Regions from separate parts of the Homo sapiens genome. Here region 2 is linked to region 1. The links are contacts of gene promoters, found by promoter capture Hi-C in human tissues and cell types (Jung and others, 2019). All regions are on one chromosome and are shown on one strand. Each heading gives the region's core, a stretch centred on a gene start or on the middle of the fragment in contact. The rest is flanking DNA. Distances are from core to core; before and after follow the strand shown. Region 1 holds the start of VCL (vinculin). Region 2 holds the start of LOC124902457 (a long non-coding RNA gene).

The links. The method cuts DNA at HindIII sites, captures the fragments that hold promoters and counts their contacts. A contact is called where the count stands out against the background at its distance.
Region 2: a contact is called between a fragment that was not itself captured here and the fragment with the promoter of VCL in region 1, in 1 of the 25 tissues and cell types used here (stomach).

Annotation. Positions count from the first base shown.
Region 1 is chr10:73,995,789-74,001,863 of GRCh38, forward strand. It overlaps VCL (vinculin), which reads left to right and starts at 2,328. Exons shown (of 22, transcript NM_014000.3): 1 at 2,328-2,587. The coding sequence starts at 2,420. RefSeq lists silencers at 1,937-2,296, 2,627-2,676 and enhancers at 2,357-2,556, 2,629-3,280. The HindIII fragment of the contact is 15,261 bases long and covers 1-6,075 here.
Region 2 is chr10:74,584,154-74,590,247 of GRCh38, forward strand. ADK (adenosine kinase) reads left to right here. Exons shown (of 11, transcript NM_006721.4): 8 at 5,129-5,164. LOC124902457 (a long non-coding RNA gene) reads left to right here and starts at 5,171. Exons shown (of 2, transcript XR_007062199.1): 1 at 5,171-6,094. RefSeq lists an enhancer at 1,371-1,540. The HindIII fragment of the contact is 8,050 bases long and covers 575-6,094 here.

The sequences.
Region 1 (6,075 bases), core at 1,078-3,577:
GATCAAGCCTCTGAGTCTTCCTGCCAATCTGTAGGAAATATATAGTTCAGAAGAACAAGTTAAACTACACATAAATATACAATCAGCAAAGTGGGGACAGGGTGAGGATTTAACAAAATCATACACTTTTTGGGAGGCTATATATACTTTGGGAGGCCATTTATACTTTGGGAGGCCAAGGCAGGTGGATTTCTTGAGTCCAGGAGTTTGAGATCAGCCTGGACAACATGGCGAAACCTTGTCTCTATCAAAAATACAAAAATTAGCCGGGCGTGGTGGCATGCACCTGTGGTCCCAGCTACTTGGGATGCTGAGGTGGGAGAATCACCTGAGCCTGGGGAGGTCAAGGCTGCAGTGAGCCGAAATCACACCACTGCACTCCAGCCTGGACAATCGGAGTGAGACCCTATCTCAAAAAATAAAAACATAAATAAAAATAAATAAAATAAAATAATTTTTAAAATAAAAAAATCATATCGTTCCATCACTCAACTTTTTTTTTTTTGGACAGGGAGTCTCACTCTGTTGCTCAGGCTAGAGTGCAATGGCACGGTATCAGCTCACTGCAACCTCCACCTCCCAGGTTCAAGCAAGTCTCCTGTCTCAGCCTCCCGATTAGCTGGGATTACAGGCACCTGCCACCACACCTGGCTAATTTTTGTATTTTTAGTTGAGACGGGGTTTCACCAGGTTGGCCAGGCTGGTCTTGAACCCCTGACCTCAGGTGATCTGCCTGCCTCAGCCTCCCAAAATGCTGGGATTACAGGCGTGAGCCACCGTGCCTGGCCCCATCACCCAAATATTTATACTATTAACACAAAGTAATGGGCAGAGAAAACAGCTGTGGTGGTTGTGGTAGGACTAGACAAAAATTTTCATTTGATGTGAGAATCTTTTGCTTGGAGGCATTACTGAAAGTGTTTACCTCAGAATGGGAAAGCTTGGGCAAAAGCGAATTTGAAGTAAGTAAGACGTTTGGAAGATGTCTTTTTTTTTTTTTTTTTTTTTTTGAGACAGAGTCTTGCTCTGTCGCCCAGGATGGAGTGTAGTGGCGCGATCTCCGCTCACTGCAAGCTCCGCCTCCCGGGTTCACGCCATTGTCCTGCCTCAGCCTCATGAGTAACTGGGACTACAGGCGCCCGCCACCACGCCTGGCTATTTTTTTTGTATTTTTAGTAGATACGGGGTTTCACCGTGTTAGACAGGATGGCCTAGATCTCCTGACCTCGTGATCCGCCCGCCTCAGCCTCCCAAAGTGCTGGGATTACAGGCGTGAGCCATCGCGCCCGGCCTGGAAGATGTCTTATACAAAGCGTGAGGGAACTGGATAATTTGGTCTTACCTATCAAAATATAAAATGCATATACTTTTGCGTTTTTCTCTTTCCTGGTAGGCATTTGCGCTAGATAAATACACAGATGCACAGCACAGGGGTAAGTACAATTCATGCAGAATTGTTTTTTAATAGTGAAAACCAGGACCCAACCCAAGTCCATGAGTAGGAAATTGGTTCTGTAAATAGTTTTATTTCATGCAATGGAATATCATGCAGTCATTAAGAAGAATGAGGTAGACCTCTACCAGCAGTGAAAGATAAGGGCATTTTAATCAAGGGCAATCATACCTAGTTCCAGGAAAATGTTTATTAATCTCATTTAGTTAGAAAATATATATGTAGAAGTGAATCTATAGACAAGTCTAGAAGGCTACACACCCAGCTGTTAAACAGAATGTCTTTGAGGAGGGCAGGGGGCGGAGTCTGCGTTTACGTGAATGGGACGCTGCTGTTTCTCAGTGCACCTCTGCTGTTTGAATCTTTTACTAAAAACCTTCCCATGCATTGCTGGGAGGGAATGGAAGGAGTATTTTGAGGGTTTCGTGTGAAGGGAAAAGTTGAGGAGGGGACGTGGGAGACCCCTTGGTCTCATCAAACTCTAGCGCCGCTTGAGGTGAGGAGACCCCGCCCCGCTGAGGTGATTCTGCAGAGGGGCGGAGCCCCCCAGATCCGAGGCGGGAGGCGGCCCGGGGGCGGGACCAGCCGGCTCCAGCGGCCCGCTCCGCTCCCACCATGCCCTTATAAGGAGCGCCCGGCGTTAGGGCTCGGGAATCCGGTAGCAATCCCGGCGGCTCAGCCCCAATCCCAGGCCCCTCCCTTAGGAATGGGGGAGGGGCGGGGTTTGGCGGCGCGGTGGCTGGGGCGGAGCATCTCGAAAAGGGACCAGTAGGAGTGGCGGCCCAGGTCTGAGCTGCGCTGCCATTGGGCGCGGCGACGAGAGGGGGCGGGGAGCCCGTGAGGCTGGTTACGCCGAGGGAAGCCCCGACTCCGTAGTCGCTGCACAGTCTGTCTCTTCGCCGGTTCCCGGCCCCGTGGATCCTACTTCTCTGTCGCCCGCGGTTCGCCGCCCCGCTCGCCGCCGCGATGCCAGTGTTTCATACGCGCACGATCGAGAGCATCCTGGAGCCGGTGGCACAGCAGATCTCCCACCTGGTGATAATGCACGAGGAGGGCGAGGTGGACGGCAAAGCCATTCCTGACCTCACCGCGCCCGTGGCCGCCGTGCAGGCGGCCGTCAGCAACCTCGTCCGGGTGAGCGCGCAGGGCCTGGCGCGGGAGCGGGCGCGGGAGGTATCCCCGGGGCCCCGGCCCGCGTCGCGGCTGCCTGTGGCCGGCTCGCTGGCCGTGGCTTTCCGCGTGGGTTCCGGAGCCAGGCGCCGAGGGTTCGAATGGCCTCTTCTCCGCCCTGTGACCTTGAGCGAGTCCTGAGCCTCTCCGGGCCTCAGTGTCCTCATCTATAAAATGGGAGCAGTCATGAAAAAGGCTGCCTTGCGGGCTTGTCGTGAAGATATGGCGAGGTATTATTCGTGGAGTGCCTCGCGCGGCGTGTGGCCCACAGCAGACACCCAATAAATGAGAGTTGCTGGGATGTCCGAGGGTCCCTGCCCCGCGCAGGCTTCGCCCCCACGTTGACTTCCTCGCTCTCAGCGCCTTTTAGGCCTCCTCGATCTGGCTGTGCGGGGGAGGGAGAGCGGGCCTTCCCACGGATCCCTTGCCTTCTCTTCTAGGGATCCTTATTTGAGCCACGTTGTCCTCCTTTCTAATACTTCTGCCCCTCACCCTGAGACCCGCCTCGCCCACCCCCGCTCCCCAGAGCTCCCTGTATTCCGCCCTTTTATTCACTTGCCTCACTCTCTGTCGCCTCCTCCTCCCTCCTGGGCATTTTACTTATGCTCACTCCTCTGGCACTCTCACACCTTTATGCAGTCATTCGTGACCACAAGCCCGGTTTTTCCTTCCGCTCAGCCCTGCTGCCCTTCCTTTCATTCCCTCCTGTGGACATTTTCACCTGGCGTTACCTGCTGTCAAACGGCCTCCTCCCACTGGGGCCTTTCTAGACTCGGGGGCCCTCCTTGGCCCCTCCTCCTGGCAGGAAGCAAGATGGAGCTGTTGGGAGAGGCCTGTGGAATCTGGGATCTGCCGCCCCTGCCGGAGAGAAGGCTGGGGCATCCGCTCCCCATCCACAACTTTCCTGGTGGCTCTGCAGACCCCTGTAACCCACAGCTGTGACTCATAACCGAGGTGATTCCTGGAGGAGGTGGAGCCCACGTCTGAAATGGGAAAAAAGAGGTGCTGAGACCAGTCTCCCAAGACTCCCCTGGCTAATGTCACACTTTTCTTTCCCACCCTGGGTGGGTGACTCAGACTGGTCCTGCTTGTGAGGAACAATTTTGGAAAAAGTTCATACTGCTCCCCCACTGAGCTGTGTAAATAGTGTGTGTCAGGGCAGTTGGGCGGCAACTGTGGGTCTGTCTGGGTGGGGCTTGGGTTACTTTTCTGATTTGAGCACTTTAGTGCACTTAGAGGCTCTTTAGCAGCTGAAAGTCTTCCTCAGTCTTCAGGGGTCCCTGGACTGTCTCAAGCAATTTAGGAGACTGGTAGCTAGGAAGACAGGGTGACACCACCGACCAAATTCCTGATCTTTCTTCTCTATAGCTTTAGTAAGAATCTATTCATTCAGTAAGAATGCTGTATTCATTCACAATGTCTACTTGTACATTGTTCTTCTTTTTATAACTAATTTGAACAGAACACTCCAGAGTACATTCTTATGTAGTGTTGTCTAACATGGCTGCATTCCAGGCCTCCATTTTTCAACAAATAGGAAACAATGTAAAGAGACAAGGTAATAGTGTCTCTCCATGTAGTACTTCAGGAAATGAAATCTTAAAACCACATGTTGCACTTGGAACAGAGCTAGTGTAGTCTAGGGGTTGATATCTGGTTAGGCTATTTAGAGAAAAGTTATTTATGGGCTTCCATGCCATGAATTAATAAGCATTGAATGTCTGCTATATGGAAAACACTGCAATAAATCAGTGCTTCTCAGCTTAAGAGTGTTCATGAAAATCATCAGTGAGGCTTTTTAGAAATTAAGATGTCCAGCTCCCACGGGTCAAGGCCTTTGTATTTTGCTTTTTTTTTTTTTTTTTTTTGAGACAGGGTCTCGCTCTGTCACGCAGGCGCTGGAGTGCAATGGCGTGATCATAGCTCACTGCAGCCTCCATCTCCTGGACTGAGAAAAATCCTCCCACCTCAGCCTCCCAAGTAGCTGAAGGCCTTTGTTTGTTTGTTTGTTTGTTTGTTTTTGAGATGGAGTCTTCCTCTGTCACGAGGCTGGAGTGCAGTGACACGATCTGGGCCCACTGCAACGTCCTCCTCCCAGGTTCAAGTGATTCTCCTGCCTTAGCCTCCCGAGTAGCTGGGACTACAGGTTCGCACCACCGTGGCCAGCTAATTTTTGTATTTTTAGTAGAGGCGGGGTTTCACCATGTTGGCCAGGATGATCTCCATCTCTTGACCTTGTGATTTGCCCGCCTCGGCCTCCCAAAGTGCTGAGATTACAGGCATGTGCCACTGTGCCCGGCCAGGCCTTCGTATTTTTTAGGAAGCTCCATAGGTGATTGTGATATACGGCCTTAGTTAGGAAACACTGTAATACACACTGTGAGACAAATACAAAAGAAATAAGGTTATAAGATGAAAACAATGATATGTAGTTAAGTTATATACTTTCCAACACATACAAAAGAGGGGACTTGAGATTGGTGGTAGCTATGGGTTAGCAGAGACAAAGTAGGGAGGATTGTGCTGATAAATAGTTAATCATGAACAAAGGTACTTGTGAGTAAGTCACTTCCAGGTTACAGCAAGTAGATTATCTTGATTGCAGCTCAGGAGACAAGTTGGAGAGAAATTGGAGATGAAGTTAGTGCGTGACATATGGGCAGTGTAACATAGGCCTTATCCAAAAGGATGAACAAAGAGAGCAGGAGGGGAAGGAGGATGAGAATAGTGTGTGAGAAAGACTGCGTGAGAATGGCGTGTGAGAATAGTATAGTGTGTTTTGGGGAGGCCAGAGGACCTACCCATTGCTTCACATTCTTGGTGCCAACTGTGACCGTTAAATATGTGGATTCTGTACATGCTTCAAGATTGTTCCTGGAGGTCAAGCCTTGTCTGATATTCCTCTCTTTTTAAAAAATTTTATTTTGGTTTTAAATAGAGACAGGGTCTTGTTATGTTGCCCAGGCTGGTCTCGAATCCCTGGGCTCAAGCAATCCTCCCGCCTTGGCCTCTCAAAGTGCTGGATTACAGTTGTGAGCTACTGTGCCTGGTCTGATATTTCTTTATATGGTCCTCAGTTCCTGCCCTCAAAATTGGCACATAGGATCACTCAATAAATATTGTTGAAGGAACTATGGGAAGGGAGACAAATTGGGAAGCTTTTAAAATTGGTTGGTTATGAAGAAAATGAAGGCCTGGACTTGCGAGTGGCAGGGAAAATGGAGAAGGAATTAATCAGAAATATATTAGAAGAAGAAATAATAGAACTGGATAATTGAACTCTGAATTTGCTAGAAAAGAAACATAGTATTACGGTAAAATAATGAAACTGATTTTAGAACAAATCTTCTGGAATTTATGTAATCTGGGTGAGTATTTCTTGGGAGTTACTTTGGGAGGTTATATCCTTATTCTAGTGCTTTTCTTTGGGAATTTCTTTCAGATTATTTACA
Region 2 (6,094 bases), core at 3,350-5,849, 590 kb after region 1:
ACTGCCTCCTACACATATAATCCACAGATGGGACAGATCATTAAAGTACTCTAGGTGCTCTGACACTCATTTGTTTATCCTGAGATCTTAACAAGAACTTGAATTCAATAGGCAAAATGATTTCAGTTTCACATAAAGTATTTCATTTATTCCTAGCAACAATGCAACGAAATAGGTATGGTTAACCCCAATGTTATTGATGAAGAAATTGATGTACTGAGTGACTGGCTCAAGATTACATAGCAAATAATTTGTAAAACTGGGACCTTAGTGTAGGCCTTTTGATTCTAGACCCTGTACTCTTTCCATTGGCTATAATTGCTTCCTACCAGTACTATGTTGCACTTAAAGCCATTCAAGGAGAATATTATACCTCTAAATTTATATACAATTATATGAATTTTTATTATACAGAGATTTTTATACATATATGTAGAGAAAGACAGACACCCCCCTGTCTTAATCTCTAACCTATACCACTCCGTTTAGGAGTTATAGTATTATTGAGTCAAAGTCTAATATCATTATAAGGCCTGTAACAGCTGTAGCAATGACACACATGTACACAGATGCTAGCAGCCTAAAACTACACTTAGGAGGTAAATGTTTGTTGCATGGAGAGATGAAGAAGCAAAGTAAGAAAACAGACCTGGTCTGGTGGCTCCATTCCCCCTTGGCTTGTCAGTATACAGAAATCATTGTGTTTCTATATAACTAGTAACAAATAATTGGAATTGCAGTGAGTATGGGCAAGTTATGGTTTTAGTTTAATATTGATTATAGATAATTCTACTTTATAAGTAAGAACTTGTGTTATCAGATGAAATATAGAGAAAGTTTTCTCCTCCATAGTTGTCTTTCATATACGCAAACATGCACTTGAGTTTCTTTCCTTTCCTGCATAATCTGAGGATTGTGCTTTTTAATAGTGGCTTGCTGATCCCTTTAAATAGCTCTTAATGTAAGTATTCCATAGTTTTCATTAATCTGATTAACATAGTTTTTCCCTAACCTCCATTCAAAAACTATATTTGGTTGTTGTTTTACCCTGGTTGCTGAAGCAGCAAGCCTACTGCAAAACCTAAGTGGTGTGGTATAGATGAGAGTCTAAGACTTTAATTATATGTCATTTTATTCACAACACTCAATTCCAGGAAGGAAAAAATGGGTCTGTTTTTGTAAAGGACATATTATGTGAGTATCATTCATTGTAAACCAAAAATGATACTGTATTATAGCATAGACAACAATGAGAACTGATTCTGAAAATGTGACCTGACTGAGAAACTGAGTAATAGTGAAAGTTATCAAAATGGAAAAAAAGCGTTAATGTGAAATCCAGCCTTCTCAGAAATACTCTTTCCTGGCCTGTTTAGTTTTGCTTTTGTTGCTTGTCATGCATGAATGAAAGTGCTGTACTCTCAGGGGAGCAGGAAAGCCTCTGTGTCGGTTGTTTATTTCCTTAATCCCTCCTCCTTTGTGATTTTTGATGTCAGATCTAAAATGGAAAGCCTGTAAATATAATGATTATCACACGGATAATCACCTGCATTAGGAACCGCCCTGCTTTTCTATTCTAACCCGAGCTGTTCTCCACATGTCACATCCACTCTGTGGTTGGATTTTAACCTGACTGCTTCATTAGATTTGTGAAACTCAGTACGAGGCGCCCTGGGGCAGCACAGATGGGGACTTGCTTGTTTTCTTTTCTCACTTTTACTGCAAAGGCACACTAAAAAGTCCTTTTCAATTTAGTGCGATCAGTTCACTTGGAATTATCTCTGATATTTGGAACCTGTCTTGCTCTTCTGCCCACCAACTATGCCTATTCTTTCTTCCTTACTTTCTGACCTAATGTCTTTTCTTTCTGCCTCTGCATGTCATGAATCTGACAACTAAAATTCTGCTTACAATTCTTACTGGGTCAAACTGTTCCCCCGTGTTGTTTTGTTTGTTTTGCTGACAGGGAAAAATAAATGTTGTTCCATCATTGTACCTACAAACACCTTCAGATCAGAGGTTAGCTGTGGGAAAGTCTGCAGTGATATGAGCCAGCTGCCTTCTCTAATGGAGTGACTTGGGGCACCAGTCCAAGATCAGAGGAAGGTGGGAGGAAGTCAGAAGATAAGATCATTTTAAGCCACAGAACAACAAGCTTAGCTTTTCTAGTGATAGGGCACAGCTCAGCAAACCTGTGTGAGGGGGCACTAAGACAAAAAATTGAGTTGACTTTTTTTAAGTACATCTTTCCTCAGTCAGAAATATGTTGATGCTTGAAATAGTTTACAGACATGGAAGTGTCCTAGGGCCTGGTTTCCTTAAAAGATAATGATTTGACATTTATATATGTGTCTTCTTGCAGTTAGTCAGCTCCATACCATAACAGATCACAGTTAATTTTTAAAAATAATTTTTTTGGGCTGGGCATAGTAACTCATACCTGTAATCCCAGAACTTTGGAAGGCCAAGGCAGGTGGATCACCTGAGGTCAGGAGTTCGAGACCAGCCTGATCAATATGGTGAAACCCCCATCTCTGCTAAAAATACAAAATTAGCTGGGCATGGTGGCACACACCTGTAGTTCCAGCTACTCGGGAGGCTGAGGCAGGAGAATACCTTTAACCCAGGAGGCGGAGGTTGCAATGAGCTGAGATCGCACCACTGCACTCCAGCCAGGGCTACAAGAGCAAAGCTCTGTCTCAAAAAAAAAAAAAAATATATATGTATATATATACACACACACATATTTATATACACATATATATACATATACACACACATAAATTTTTTACAGTTAATTTCTTATATTTGAGCAAAACTGGACATTAAAAAAATTTTACTGTATGTGAATTTTGAGCATTTATGGCTTAGTGCAATTTTAGTCCTACACATTCTTCCTTTGAACTTTGTCTTACAGTCCCCTGGGGTTCTCTCATGTCTCTGATGAAGTTCCATATAAATAAGTGGTTCTAGTATAGCTTTTTTGTTGTCTTTTTCATATAAGAATTTGCTTGGTTCAGAGTGACAGCTTGGGAAGCACTACATCAATAGCTTTTGAACCTTTTCCTATTCCTTGATATCACCGCCAGCAAATGTTACTGACTATGTGATGTACAAAGTTCTAACCTTGCTTGCACAAATTGACCAGTTGTCAAGATCAATATTTATTTGCTTATTTTTGTCTACATGAACTAAGGGTAACTTGGTCAGGCTTATGTTTCTCTAGTAAATAGCGTAAGGAGTTGTACTTTCAACTTAACACTTCCTGTTGACTTCAGTGTTTAGCTGTAATCATACATTTTGACCTTTCTAAATCCTCAAAATGGTTCTCTAACCTATATGTTATTAGTACATTGGACCATAGGTGCATACATGTATTTTTTTCCCAATGTTTTCCCAAATTTCTGCTGAAGACACTGACTGTACTTTCTGCCTTACATGGCTTGATGCTACAGTCGTTTTAGTTGAGTTGGATCTGCTCACTACTCAGGCTCAAATCCCATCCTTCTATTAATATCTCTTGGCAAAGATAATTTTGGAAGAATGTGAGTTAAGATGTAGAGACTCTTGACAGTTGTCTGCAGTTTTTTTTTTTTTTCATTTTCAAGAGGGAAGTAGAGTTGAAAAGTAATATTGCCTCCCTTTTCTATCTGTCCTAAAATTAAAGTATAAGCACAAAGAGTGAAGAAAGGGAAAGGATTTGATTACACATATGTATTTTTGTCATTTAGTAACCTGTTATAAGAGCCTTAGGGTATATAATAATCATTAGATTGTGTCCTTAAGATATTTAAAATCTAGAAGAACTTTGCATATTAAAATTTTTTAACCATACATATTTTTAATGCTCAACTGTTTTTACCCTGTCATCTTATATTAAAGAGGATTTTTGGACTGTTTATTATAAAAAATTTCAAACAAAAAAGGAGACATTGGACCCCTACATAGCACATACATCTAGATTTAACACTTGTTAACATTTTGCCACTTTTGCTTCATTTTAATTTTTTTCTGCAGTATTCTAAAATAAATTACATATATCATGACATTTCATTTCTAAATACCTCAGGATTCATCTTAAGAATTAAGGACTTTTAAAATCAAACTGATAATTCCTAATATTACCTAATTTTCATTTCAGATTCAAATTTCTCCCCTTGTCCCAAAAATGTCTTTTATAGCTGGTTTGTATAAACCAATTAAGGTTTATACATTGTTCTTGGTCATTTTCCCTTTTCTACTTTACATTACATTGACTTGTTAAAAACATTAAGCTAGTTGTCCTACAGAATGTCCTACCCTATGAATGTTTTCAGTTGCTTTCTCTGTGTATACTTTAACTTGTTCCCCTATCCTCTGTATTTCTTATAGACTGCAAGTTACTGGACTAAAGTTTTGATTAATTCATATTAAAGTATTTAGGTTAGAATACTTTATAGGTGATGGTGTGAACTTCACACTGCATCACAACAGAAGGCAAAGAATATTTGGTGATCCCACTATTAGTGATGATAAGTGATAGCATCGATCACTGGGTTAAAGTGATGACAGCTTGATCCTTCCATTATAAAGTTATGCTTTGCTCCCGTGACCAGCATATAATCTGAGATACTTTGATTCCATGGAAATACCCAGTTCCCTATCATCCTTTTTACCCAATGAGTTTAACATCTACTGAGGATCCTTGCCTGCATAAATTTCGTTATGAGGATTGCAAAAAGATGATTTTTCTGAATTTATACATTTATTAGCAGGCATTCTTCTCTACATAAGAGCTTTTTGAGAGGTATTGTTTTAATTAAAAACACAACCACCAGCATATTCCTTGGATTGTCTTTCTTTGCTGAGGTCAGAACACCTGAACTCACTGTGGCAGCTACAGTAAAAACATGTACTACATCTTCTTTATTCCAACTTGTGAAGTGTGTTGACATTAGGCTGCCTTTTTTTATTATTATTATTCCAAGGGAAAAAAGAAATCTTTATTGCTGTAAGAATAAAAATTGAACTATGTGGGTATATTGAGATAATTGTGTAAAGAAGAAGACTGAATGAGTTTCAAAAAATGGATTATTTCTTCATTACCGAGCACTTTATAATTAACTGTTCTTTTTTTTTTTTATTTCAGGAAGCTGCCACTTTTGCTAGAGAGCAAGGCTTTGAGGTGAGTTAACCCACAATTGCACACTAAACAGATCCTAAAGGTTTTTTCTAGCTGATAATGAAGTTCTTTTGGACAGTGATTGATGTGCTATTATACTCTCAGAGCCTCGCAGCAGTTGCCATGGAAACTTGGCAGTCGTCATGGTTTCTTTGTTCTGCCAGCACAGTGTTATGACGCACTCTGCTAGGTCTGCACCCAACATCGCCTACAGATGTTATTTATTGAATTTTGAAAAGCCTCTTGGGAAGCCAAGAGGTTGGGCACGGTTTCAAGCTGCCTCTGCAGATATGGGGCCTGTCAGTTTGTTCAGTTAAAAAGCTACCTCATTAGCTGCATTACATTTCATAAGGATTCACTGCTAAAGCAGTGGTGGAACAAGACTAAATAATGAAATATAATGTCGTTTAAATAATTTCAGCCCTATCACATGTAGATTATCATTATGCAAATTAATTTCTAAAAGGTTGTACTTAACAGTTGTTAGGAACTGATTAATTTAAATCCTGCTTTTATAAACTTACTCTTTGAACCTATCTTTTCTTCTCTCTCCCTCTTTTTTTCTGGGGAGACGGAGGTAGCATAAAATATACATACATTTTCTGAAATAAAATATCAATAATTGGATTTAATTTCTAGGTCCTAATTCTGTTTTTCTGATATAAGTGTTATCCTGTCAAGATTCAAAACTCCATGTGGTTGTTGTTGGCAAAACTGAGATAACCGTGTTTTTTATCTGTATAATACCCCTCTTCCAACTGATTGTTAGAAAACACTGACTAATATGAACCCAGGTTAACTGACAGAGAATTAACTAAGTTGGAGTTGTTTATGACTATGATATTTATTGAGTGAACTATGTAGAATGCTGTGTTCTTACAGCAACTTAAAGTGTTACAGGGTAGTAATTTTTAAAAATTTAATCTAACCACA